Linked DNA regions of Homo sapiens: region 1 is linked to region 2. Evidence: promoter capture Hi-C in 16 types of primary human blood cells and fetal thymus (Javierre and others, 2016). All regions are on one chromosome and are shown on one strand. Each heading gives the region's core, a stretch centred on a gene start or on the middle of the fragment in contact. The rest is flanking DNA. Distances are from core to core; before and after follow the strand shown.

Region 1 (6,220 bases), core at 2,765-5,264, 1.3 Mb after region 2:
TGGGTGGAGACATGAGACAAAGGTTCCTGCAAGAATGGTCTTTGTCAACACATGCACACGTATGTTCATGATAGCACTATTCACAATAGCAAAGACATGAAATCAACCCAACTGTCCATCAATGGTAGACTGGATAAACAAAATGTGGTACATATACACCATGGAATACTATGCAGCCAAAAAAGAATGAGATCATGTCCTTCGCAGCAATGGATGGATCTGGAAGACATTATCCTAAGCAAACTAACACAGGAACAGGAAACCAAACACTACATGTTCTCATTTGTAAGTGGGAGCTAAACACTGAGTACATATGGACACAAAAAAACTGAACAACAGACAACAGGGCCTACTTGAGGGTGGAGGGTAGGAGGACAGTGAGGATCAAAAAACTACCTATCGGGTACTATGCTGGTTACCTGGGTGGCAATGTAATGTGAAACCCAAACCTCCACGACATGTAATTTACCTACATAACCAACCTGCATGGGTATCCCTCAACATAAAATAAAAGTTGAAAATAATGGAAAAAAAAGAAAAAAAAAAGGTCTTTGTCATCTGGTACTAATGGACTCAAGCAGAGCTTCACTAAAGGTTTCCAGTATGCTGCCCACCATTTGGTCCAAATGAAGACAGTTGAGCTTACTAAACAGTAGAGTTGACTGTGGCATCTGGCTAATGAATATTTTTCTATAAAAAAAGATAGACAGATTTGCAAATAGGAACAATACTGCACATTCTGGGGGCATGGTAAACATTGCTCACCTTAGGAACAAAACCCTGCTTTCAATTAATTCCTTCATAGGCGGAACATATCCTTTTACAAAGGTTTAGTATAGCAGTACAGTTACCACTACTATTAATATATTTTAAATAGTTAGTATAAACCAGATACTATTTTATTATTTTATATATTATTCATTTACCAGTCCAATGAGTTAGGTATCATTATTTTTCCCATTTTGCAGACAAAGAAACTGAGCCTCAGAGCTTTTGAGTGATTCATTCCAAGACCCAGAGCAAGCAAAAAGTGGGGCAGAGATCCAAACCCAGGTAGCCCTGATCCAGAGCTCATGCCTTCAGACCATCCCATATGACCCTGCAATATTATAGGCAATATGCAATATTATGTTATTTGAATTAACCAGCTGGGGTTCACATGTTGGCTTAGACTTTTACTGTGTAATCAAACAAGCTACTTAACCCTTCTGATCTTTGTTTTCTTAAACAATGTCAAATTGAAAAAAAACTATTTCCTTCATAGAATTTGGAAGGGATTAAATAAAATAATATTTAAAGTGCTTAGAAGAGTCCTTGACATATAATTAGCATTTAGTAAATCTCTCTCTCTCTCTCTTTCTCTTGCACAAGCACCCATACTAGATTGATATCAGCATTTGACTTTCGGCATGATATTGAGTAGGTATCTCAGTTAGATCACTTTTATAATCCCTTCTGATATTAAAATGATATGACAACACACTCTATCATTTCTGTTTTTATATGATGTTCCCCTTTCTTCTTCATGAGATCAATTTCATTTAAGTCTTTCCAGTTCCCTTGAAATATTTTTATCTGAAGCCATGGAATTTATTCCTCTTTTCGTTTTGTATGTTGTTTTATTTTACATTTTGAAATATATTTTTTAAAAATTTTCATGCAATGTATACTTTTTACTTTAAAGCATTTTCATATAAGTAGACTTGTATTCTAAAATAAATGTTAAGCTTCTTACGTTGTGACCATATGCTGGTCTGCTCTTATACTTTTCATTTTACTAAAAATACTATTTCATTCTGGGCTCACAGATGTCATTCAAAAAATATTCATGAAAATTGATAATTTTGACAAAAAGAAATATTTTTTGTAGACTAGAGATTCTCATACCCCATGGCTCTTAGAAATAAAGACAAAGAAAAATATAATTAGAAGGAAACCATAACCATAACTTTAAATAATTTTTCTTTCTCTTTGAATTCAAAAACAGTAATTAAAAATGTTGAAGATGATTAAGTCATTTGCTTTGTTTGAACTACTCCATTGAAGATTATGTTCAAAAGGCTATTAATACATGTTCATTAAAATTATTTCCCCTGGGTTATGTTGGTAACATAATGTAAAACATACAGGGATTCCTGTCACAACTAATGCGTTAATTAAGAAATAAATGTACTTTTATGACTTATGCCTTTTTGAGTTAATTAGATAGTAAATCATTCCCTAATGAGTGATTCTTAGAGTGTAGTAGCTATCAGATTAAATTAAAATTTCAATTGGCACACTGATTTCAATTTAAATAAGATATCTAATGGGAGCCACCTTCAGTAATCTTTTTGTGATCTTTTATGAATATTTTCCTACATGTGGATGATTCATATAAACTTTAGTGTTAGTGCAAGCTGAAGCGCTTGTCACTTTTTCTTTAAAGTAAACTTAGTAACTCAGGAATGACGAATCAAATACTGTATGTTCTCACTTATAAGAGGGAGCTAAGCTATGGGTACGCAGAGGCGTGCAGAGTAATACAATGGACCATGGGGACTCAGAAGGTTGGGAGGGCGATGAATAAAAAACTACATATTGGGTACAATGTACAGTAGTCAGGTGATATCCGGACTAAAATTTCAAACTTCACCACTATACAATTCATCAATGTAACCAAAAACCACTTGTACTCCAAAAACTTTTGAAAGGAAAAAAAAATTCTGTAAAGTACTTCACTTAGGTGATATGGAAATAATACACGTGTGGCTTGAAATAGATTTTTCAGCACACTGATTTAGTAGGGAAAAGCTATATAGAAAAAAAGCAAATGACTTTGAATTTATCAAGATTTAATTCGGATTTTAAAAATTACGTTTACTCATCTCTAAGCTATTAAAAAGCAGTACGTTACAGGTATTTTTCATGTATATTATTTTTAAAAATATCTTTTAAGATAGACAACAGATTCTTATTACTCTTCCTTAGTTGTAGGATTATTCAGAAGCTCTTGAGTAATTTATTACTTTCATATTTTGTATTTATTTTGTTAATTATTTCTTGTAATAACTCTTTTCTACAATTGTAATTATAGAAGTGTGAGTTTTGCTTAGCAAAGTCACGAAAGCATTATTTCTATTCCTCTTTCTACCATTTTTGTTTTTGAATACAAAATTATAAATTCTAAACCATCATTTTAAATCAATCTCTTTCTTCACCTTTCTTCATTTTAACTTTCAGGCCATGTTTCATATTGAAAGTTGAAATGTTCCTTTGCTTTAAGCAATTTAAGAAGAATAAACTTTCTTTTCTTTTCTTTTTTTTCCTATCATAGTCATTTATTTTTAAAGGCAAGAAGCCAAAAACACATTTAGAAGTCTAATCATCAAACTTACAAATAAAGCTTCATTTGAAAAATGTATGTTTTATTATGTAGTAATAATTCAATTCACCTTCAATATATAAAAATGAACAAAAACCAATACATATTAATATAATATGTTTTAATTTATTTTTATGTTAGCACCAGAGCTTTAATGGAATATGAAAAGCCATCTTGTCTGTAAAAACTTGTGAAATCATTTTCTCTCTGCTTAATTTATAAGTGGCTTAGGAAAACCAATTTCATTGGAGAGTAGTCTTAAGTTTCAAGGTTTTATTGACCTACTGTGTGCTACCTAGTCTGCTAAAATTCAGAGAAACTCTTGTGATTTTACATGGACAGAAATGACACATGTGAAGCAATAAAGATTTTAAAAAGTATTCTGAGAAATTTCAAGAACAAGTCATATTTCAATGTTAAAAAAAAACCAAAATCCTTTTTTATCTTTCAAACCCCAAAGGAATCATCGCCCTCCTGTTGCGACGCATATATGTCTTTGACAATACACAAGAATGTCACTCTCTCCCTCTTCCTTCTCTCTCCCCTACAGTTCTCTTTTGCTACCAATTTTCTACACAATTTGGTAGGGGACTGATGTATGAGGAAGAAACAATAATGCCCTTTGACTTTCTGTTAGGAAAAGACTTCTCACCCCATGCACAAGAAATAGGAAGAATGATCAAAACACAGACTGCCTCTTCATACTAAGACTTCTCTATCTCCCTTTTTCAGACCAAGCCCTATTCAAAAAACACTTTGAAATAAGAATAGCATTTGGCCAAAGAAGTATAGTTCTTATGTCATAAGTGTCCAGTCAACCACAGTGCCACTGAAAAAGGAAAATGGCTACTTTTGCACCCCCCGTGGAGAAATAACCCTGGGAAAGGAACAGCAACTTCTGACTACCCACTCTTCAGTGCTTGGGCAGCACTCCATCATGGTGTTTTCAGAATGTAGACAATCTTCCAAAATATAACAATGCAGACCCTAAACAATTTCCTAGAGAAGTCAGGACCTCAGGCAGGCAGGCAGGCAGACTGGCAGATCTCTCAAAGAAGAATCTCCCTTTGGAAAGGAAAAAAGCCTGCTTTATCTTTACTCACACACCTTTCTCCTTGCATGTGAAACTTGCTGAAGGGGAACGTGATTTTATTTTCAACCATCTATCCATGCCAACTCTCTTATTCAACTTCTTGGTCTCATATCCATATTCAAGCAACCCTCTCTAACAATGATGCTGTCAGCTTGCTCTACATCCTTTCTCAAAGTTATTACAGGTCAAGCTTGAATTCCTCTTTTGAACTTTGTAATTCTCAAACAGTCATCTGGATTGTTTCTGAGCAATAGCTAGAACTTGTTTGATCCATCTTCCTCAGCCTTTATTAATCCAATTCCTAAGTTGTCTATTTTTTCACTTTAGCCCTGTTCATTGAGGATCACTCTTGTTTAAACAGTTTATTTTTCTCCCATTAATATCAATAATAATTCAGCTGGAGGAAAGCAAAAATGATTAGCTACTTTTATACTCAGGCCTTTTGATTCTGTACATAAATGGACCTATAAATAGCCACCTATTTTATAAAATATTATTTTGAGGAAGAATACTATTGGGAGATTGCTTTTGGAAACCATCATTTTCAGTCTTTTCTATTTGTTTCCCAGCACCACAGATACTTGGAGATGGAAACAGGGATTATTTGAAATAGTTTCACTTGAACCTAGAAAGTGCAAATCACTCAAAATCCTGCTCTTGCTGTAGAGTAAGGACAAAAAACTGTTTGAAGGGCTACGAGGGAAGGATAGAGATTCCTGGGCACTAGAGGAGGCATTAAACTTAAGAAAAAGATAAATCATGTCCATCTCCAATAAGAAGTCCTTTGTAGTCCTGAGATGGCTTAAGGGTGCTATCTCTTGGTCAGAGACTTTTCTACTGTAGCTATTTCTCCATGAGCATAGGTCAAGGCAGAGATTTTCATTTCTAATTTCAATTCCACAAACAAAGAACAAACATGACATGCTAACAGCATGTTAAAGTTGAGGCTTAAATATGGCCTGAGAAGGACTCTGTATTTCTATATTTGAATCCTTTTAGATGAACTGCAGCGTAACTTACTAGGTAGACAAGATTGAAAACCTCACTTAGTAGTATGCACCTGTAACAATAGCTCAGTCTTGACCAATCCCAGCAACCGTACTTCAACCACTGATACACTGCTGAGTGTTCAAACTGTATTCAAATAAGGCAAATGCCAACCTGTAACCAATCCAGCTGTTTCTATACCTTACTTCTGATTTCTGTACATCACTTTACTTTTTTGTCTCTAAATTTGTTCTGACCATGAGGTACCCCTGGAGTCTCTCTGAATCTGCTGTGATCCTGGGGGCTTCCCAATTTGTGAATTGTTCATTGCTCAATTAAACTCCTTTAAATGTATTTTAGCTGAAGTTTTTCTTTTAACAAGCATAAATAGTTGTTTGGTTGAGGGGTTTTTGGATAACTGTGAGTTTTTCAATGTGAGTTTTTATGTAAGAAAAAAAGGTAATTTGGGAAGATAGCTGACTAGAAACAGCTCTTGGAGGCTCCCATTGAGAAGAACAAAAACAGAGTGAATCCTGCACTGGCAACTAAGGTATCCAGGTTCTCTCACTGGGACTGACTAGGCAGTTGGAGCGACCCATGGAAAGTGAGGAGAAGCAGGATAGAGTGATGGCCTACCCGGGAGGCACATGGGGCAAGGGGAGCTCCCACCCCCAGCCAAGGGATGTGGTGAGTGATTGTGCTACCTTGGCCAGGAAATCATGCTTAAAACATGGATCTGTGCAACCTGACTTGTGCAGATTTTTAGTGGCTGCTTG
Region 2 (6,189 bases), core at 3,526-6,025:
TAGAATCTGTCATCTGAGCACAAAAGTTAGACAGTAATCTTTACTACCTCTTGTGAAGATAAAATAGAGTGGTTCACTCTATTATTTCATACCTGATAGTATGATGATGATCTGGAGAACTAATAAGATTATTTTTGATGTACTAGGTTTTAGAAAACAGTAATTTGTGCATTTTTTGTGAGATTTTCATAAGGAAATGGGTTTAATGTGATTTTCATTATGAAATGGTTAAAAGAAAGACTTCCACAGACATTGACTACACTGATACCTGCCCTTCCATAATGTAGATGATGAACTTAGCTTTCAAAAACAGTTTTCGGTGATGAAAATAATGCATTCCTTCATTTGTCAAAAAAGAAACAAACAAGCAAACCAACTTACTGAGGCCCCACTTAGTGCCATTAGGTCCTTGGGATACAGCAATGTACAGGTCAGAAAGATCTCTGCTCTAAGTTTTCTTGTATTATATTAGGGGAAGGAAACTGATAATAAATACAAAAACAAACAAGATACAATTTTAGATGATAAGTTTATGTGATAGTGAGTAATTAGTTGTTTGCATAAAAAATTCTACCTTCCAAAATATCACTACAAATACTTTAGTGTTTCTCATTCTATTATGTGTATGAAAGCATATTAAATAAATGAGATACTATTATACAGTTTTGTAACCTACTTCTTTCAATTAACAATATACAATATTGCAAGAATTTTTTTCATGTTATTATATATTCTCCCACAAAACTGTTTATTTGGCTACATGGAACGTACTACTTCGAATGAATATAATGTAATTTATTCACATTAATCACCTAGATTATCCCTTATTTTTCCTCATTATGATCAAGGATATAATGAACATCCAGGTTAATAAATCTTGTGTACATCTATAATCGTTTCTTGAGAATAAATTTCTTACATCAAAACTGTTGCCTCAAATGGTTATTTAAATTTCAAAAATTGGGCCAGTCATGGTGACACATGCCTGTAATCCCAGCACTTTGGCATGCTGAGACTGGCAGATCGCATGACCCCAGGAGTTTGAGACCAACCTGGGCAACATGGTGAAACCTGTCTCTATAAAATATACAAAAGATTAGCCAGGCATGGTGGCATGCGCCTGTAGTCCCAGCAAACCTGGGAGGCTGAGGTAGGAGGACCACCTGAGCCCAGGAGGTCGAGGTTACAGTGACCCACGATTCTGCCAATGCACACCAGCTTGGGTTGACAGAGCGAGACCCTGTCTCAAAAAAGAAAAAAAATCAAAAATTAAAACTGTGATGTACCTTTTAAAATAGTTTTCCCAAAATGCTGTATAATTTAGCCTCCCTCTGACTGTCGATAAGGTCTTTGGTTCACCTCATCCTTAATAGCACTGGATGATATCTTTTTCCTCCCGACTTTATGGGAGAAAAAAACTCATTTTCATTTTGACATCTATTATTTTTCTTTCTCTTTTTTTGAAGATACAATTCATGTATCATGAAATTCACCATTTTAAAGTGTTCAATTCAATGGTTTTCAGTATATTCACAAAGTTGTGTAATAACCATCACCACTATCTAATTCCGGAACTCTTTTATAGGTCCCAAAGGAAATCCCATACTCATTAGCAGTCACTGCCCATTTCCCTCTCCTTCAGCCCTGGCAACCACTAAGCTGCTTTCTGTTTCTATGGATTTGCCTACCCTAGGCATCTCATATAAATGGAATCATATAACACCTGGCCTTTTCTGTCTTTTTCCACTGAGCATAATGTTTCCAAGCTTCATCCATGTTGTAGCACGTATCAGTAATTCATTTCTGTTTATTGCCAAATAACATTTCATTGTATGGATATACCACAATTGATTTATCCATTCATCATTTGATGGACATCTGGCTTGTTTCCACATTTTGGTTATTATGAATAAAGCTGCTATGAACATTTATGTACATGTTTTCATGTGAATATATGTTTCCAATTCTCTTGGCTACATACCTAGGAGTGGAATTGCTGGGTTGTCTGGTGACTCTGTTTAATTTTAGAGTTAACTGTCAGACTGTTTTTATATTGACTACATCATTTTACCTTTCCACCAGCAATGTTTGAGGGTTCCACTTTTACCACATCTTCAACACTTATTATTTTTTGTTGTTGTTATTTCTTAATTATAGCTATCCTAGTGGGTGTAAAGTAGTATCTCATTGTTGTTTTGATTTGTATTTCTCTAATGTCTAATGATGTTGAGCCCCTTGTCATGTGTTTATTGGCTATTTGTATATTTTCTTTGGAGAAGTGTCTGTTCAAATCTTTTCCCATTTGAAAATTAGATTATTTGTTTGAATTGTAGGGAATACAAGTTATTTTACTGCGTGTAGCTGCTCCCCAGGTTTCTGGATGCCATTGTTAAAAAATATCATGACTTAGATTTTATCCCCGTGCTCCTGGAATCCTCAGGTTTCTGTGACACAGAGTTCAAGTGAGAGTTCAATCATTCTAGGGACTACTCAGCACCACAGTAGCACCTACAGAGATCATCTGGAGGGAGTGATTTTGTCTCAACAGACGGATCTTCAATGAAGATGAAACAAATCCATTTTGGAGAGAGATGTTAGAGAACTGATGGCGTTCAGGACATGCTACCCAAAAATAATGGTACCTTGGCACTTAAGAAAAGAGCAGAAGCAAGAGGGTTACTTTCACTTTCCCCAGATCTTCTCTTCTGAGGCAGACCATAAGACCTTCATTCCAGAGGTGCCTTCCCTATACCTGGAGGAAACAGACATCCTTATCTCTGAAGACACACGGACAGGGAAAAGAATCTGAGCAAATAGGCCTTGCTAAGTAAGTCCCCCCAGTTTATTACCATTAGATCACAGATTTGTCCAATCATACTTCTCCATGACTTCCACTTCTTTATCAATCCTAGCCTTAAAAATACACAGGCTTCCCTCTTAACTTTGGGTCTTAATTTCTGAAGTCTCCTGTTTTGTGTAAAACTCACATAAATAAGTTAGTATGTTTTTCTCTTGTTAATGTGTCTTTTGTTACAGGGGCTTCAGCCATAAACCTAGTAATGAATGGGGAAATTTTTTTTTTCCTCCTCTATAGAACATATACCAACTGCAAGAAGAAAGAAGAATATGCCTGGTTTTGGGCCTGGCGCGGTGGCTCACGCCTGTAATCCCAGTACTATGGGAGGCTGAGGCGGGCAGATCACCTGAGGTTGGGAGTTCGAGACCAGCCTGACCAACATGGAGAAACCCCGTCTCTACTAAAAATACAAAAAATTAGCCCTGCGTGGTGGTGGCGCATGCCTGTAATCCCAGCTATTCGGTAGGCTGAAGTAGGAGAATCGCTTGAACCCAGGAGGTGGAGGTTGCGGTGAGCCGAGATCGTGCCATTGATCTCCAGCCTGGGCAACAAGAGCAAAACTCTGTCTAAAAAAAATAAATAAATAATAAAAATAAAAACAGTATGCCTGGTTTTAAAGCTTCAAAGAATTTACTCATTCTCCTGTATGTAACATTCTAGAAATGCATCTGGAGTTAAAGCCTTCTTGGAGACTTAAGAACAAATGCACTTATGCATGGCCTTTTGAAACCTAATGTTTCTACAAGGAGGCACGTCCATACTTGCAACTCCTTCTAGAAGCTTCCCCAAATCTCCTGCCTCCCCACGCTGAGTTATCCGATGTCTGAAATGTCACAGCACTTAGTCTTACTCTTCTATGGCCTACTTTCTACTGCTATTTGTGTTACTCATGCTACCCATCTTATCTCCCTCAGTGTGTGAGACGCTGGCATCAGATTTGGCATCTCCCACACACTCAACATTATGTGTTGCACACAGTAGGTACTCAATACATGCAAGTTTTCTGAATAGATATTTTCCTAGTCATCTGTGGCACCTGCTATATCCTACTGAAAATTACCAAAATGCAATTAACTTCAATTTTACATTTGGGATTTACAGAAAATAACTCTCTCTCCAAGAAATGCATAACAATTTAGCTAGGGCAAATGCCAGGTCCGAGTTAAGACATTAATGCGCTTCGATCGCGATAAGGATTTATCCTTATCCCCATCCTCATCTTTCTGCGTCGTCTAATTCAAGATAGGTCAGTAAAGGAAACCTTTTCGTTTTAGCAACCCAATCTGCTCCCCTTCTCTGGCCTCTTTCTCTCCTTTTGTTGGTAGACGACTTCAGCCTCTGTCCTTTAATTTTAAAGTTTATGCCCCACTTGTACCCCTCGTCTTTTGGTGATTTAGAGATTTTCAAAGCCTGCTCTGACACAGACTCTTCCTTGGATTGCAACTTCTCTACTTTGGGGTGGAAACGGCTTCTCCGTTTTGAAACGCTAGCGGGGAAAAAATGGGGGAGAAAGTTGAGTTTAAACTTTTAAAAGTTGAGTCACGGCTGGTTGCGCAGCAAAAGCCCCGCAGTGTGGAGAAAGCCTAAACGTGGTTTGGGTGGTGCGGGGGTTGGGCGGGGGTGACTTTTGGGGGATAAGGGGCGGTGGAGCCCAGGGAATGCCAAAGCCCTGCCGCGGCCTCCGACGCGCGCCCCCCGCCCCTCGCCTCTCCCCCGCCCCCGACTGAGGCCGGGCTCCCCGCCGGACTGATGTCGCGCGCTTGCGTGTTGTGGCCGAACCGCCGAACTCAGAGGCCGGCCCCAGAAAACCCGAGCGAGTAGGGGGCGGCGCGCAGGAGGGAGGAGAACTGGGGGCGCGGGAGGCTGGTGGGTGTGGGGGGTGGAGATGTAGAAGATGTGACGCCGCGGCCCGGCGGGTGCCAGATTAGCGGACGCGGTGCCCGCGGTTGCAACGGGATCCCGGGCGCTGCAGCTTGGGAGGCGGCTCTCCCCAGGCGGCGTCCGCGGAGACACCCATCCGTGAACCCCAGGTCCCGGGCCGCCGGCTCGCCGCGCACCAGGGGCCGGCGGACAGAAGAGCGGCCGAGCGGCTCGAGGCTGGGGGACCGCGGGCGCGGCCGCGCGCTGCCGGGCGGGAGGCTGGGGGGCCGGGGCCGGGGCCGTGCCCCGGAGCGGGTCGGAGGCCGGGGCCGGGGCCGGGGGACGGCGGCTCCCCGCGCGGCTCCAGCGGCTCGGGGATCCCGGCCGGGCCCCGCAGGGACCATGGCAGCCGGGAGCATCACCACGCTGCCCGCCTTGCCCGAGGATGGCGGCAGCGGCGCCTTCCCGCCCGGCCACTTCAAGGACCCCAAGCGGCTGTACTGCAAAAACGGGGGCTTCTTCCTGCGCATCCACCCCGACGGCCGAGTTGACGGGGTCCGGGAGAAGAGCGACCCTCACAGTGAGTGCCGACCCGCTCTCTCCGCCTCATTTCCATTTCGTGGGTTCTCGCCCGCTCTCTCCCCTCCAGCCTGCACCCTCCTCCCGGATCTTCACTGCGACCCTAGCGCTCCGTGTGGTTTCTGGCCGCGCGGCCCTCGGCGGTTTCGGGTTCACCACTCACCCCCTCCTTTCCGGGCTGCGGCGTAGGCCCGGGTGTCCCCTGGGCTTTGGGGTGTGCCAATTTGCCCTGTAAACCAGTACCCCCGGCCCGGAGCCGCGGCGCGCCGGGGCCTCGCGGACTGGCTGTCTTCCCGCGGACAACCTGTCGCGTCGGGGATGCCCGCGGCCCCGCCATGCAGCTCTGGCCGCTTCTATCTGCTGCGTGCTGTCCCGGGGACAAAGACAGGAAGGACCGCAGCAGAACGAAACGGTCTTTACTGGAAAAACACCTTTCTAGAGTCCTGCCCTTAAATTCCGACTCGGGACGACCCGAGGCATATGGCACACTACTCTCACCCACTCTGTTTTATATTTTTCCGAATTGACGAAAGCTGAAAGAGCAAAAACAAAAACCAACCAGCCAACCAGCAAAAAATCCAGATGTTGTTAATAAAGTGCCATAGCTTTGTTTCAGTAGTGAAAAGAAGTGCAAACACTTTAATCTTCCACCTGCAGTGACTAGCTTTGAGACCTTGAGCCGACGCTTAACCCCAGAGCCGGTTTCCTCATCGCTCACGTGGGGCTAATATATTACTACCTTGCAGCAGGCTTGAGGATGAAATGAGAATTGCAGTTTTGCTTTCTGTAAGAAACAATGTTTGTGGTTCTAGAAAGAACACTGGCCTAAATAAGGAGTGCTTGGACTTTAGGGGATTCCCTAAGTCTGGAGTGGGGGCTGAAGATTTGCATTT

The links. The method cuts DNA at HindIII sites, captures the fragments that hold promoters and counts their contacts. A CHiCAGO score of 5 or more calls a contact.
Region 1: a fragment that was not itself captured here is called in contact with the fragment with the promoter of FGF2 in region 2 in 1 of 17 cell types (M2 macrophages); the score reaches 5.4 in M2 macrophages.

The regions. Positions count from the first base shown.
Region 1 is chr4:124,161,450-124,167,669 of GRCh38, forward strand. The region is part of intron 2 of LOC105377407 (a long non-coding RNA gene); the gene reads right to left. Among named protein-coding and RNA genes, the nearest start is that of LINC02516, 390 kb to the right of the region's middle. The HindIII fragment of the contact is 1,262 bases long and covers 3,384-4,645 here.
Region 2 is chr4:122,822,056-122,828,244 of GRCh38, forward strand. It overlaps FGF2 (fibroblast growth factor 2), which reads left to right and starts at 4,776. Exons shown (of 3, transcript NM_001361665.2): 1 at 4,776-5,297. The coding sequence starts at 5,120. RefSeq lists promoters at 3,635-4,817, 3,986-4,953, cis regulatory regions at 4,010-4,080, 4,081-4,119, silencers at 4,619-5,098, 5,439-5,733 and enhancers at 5,319-5,398, 5,681-6,189, 6,079-6,189. The HindIII fragment of the contact is 8,047 bases long and covers 3,636-6,189 here.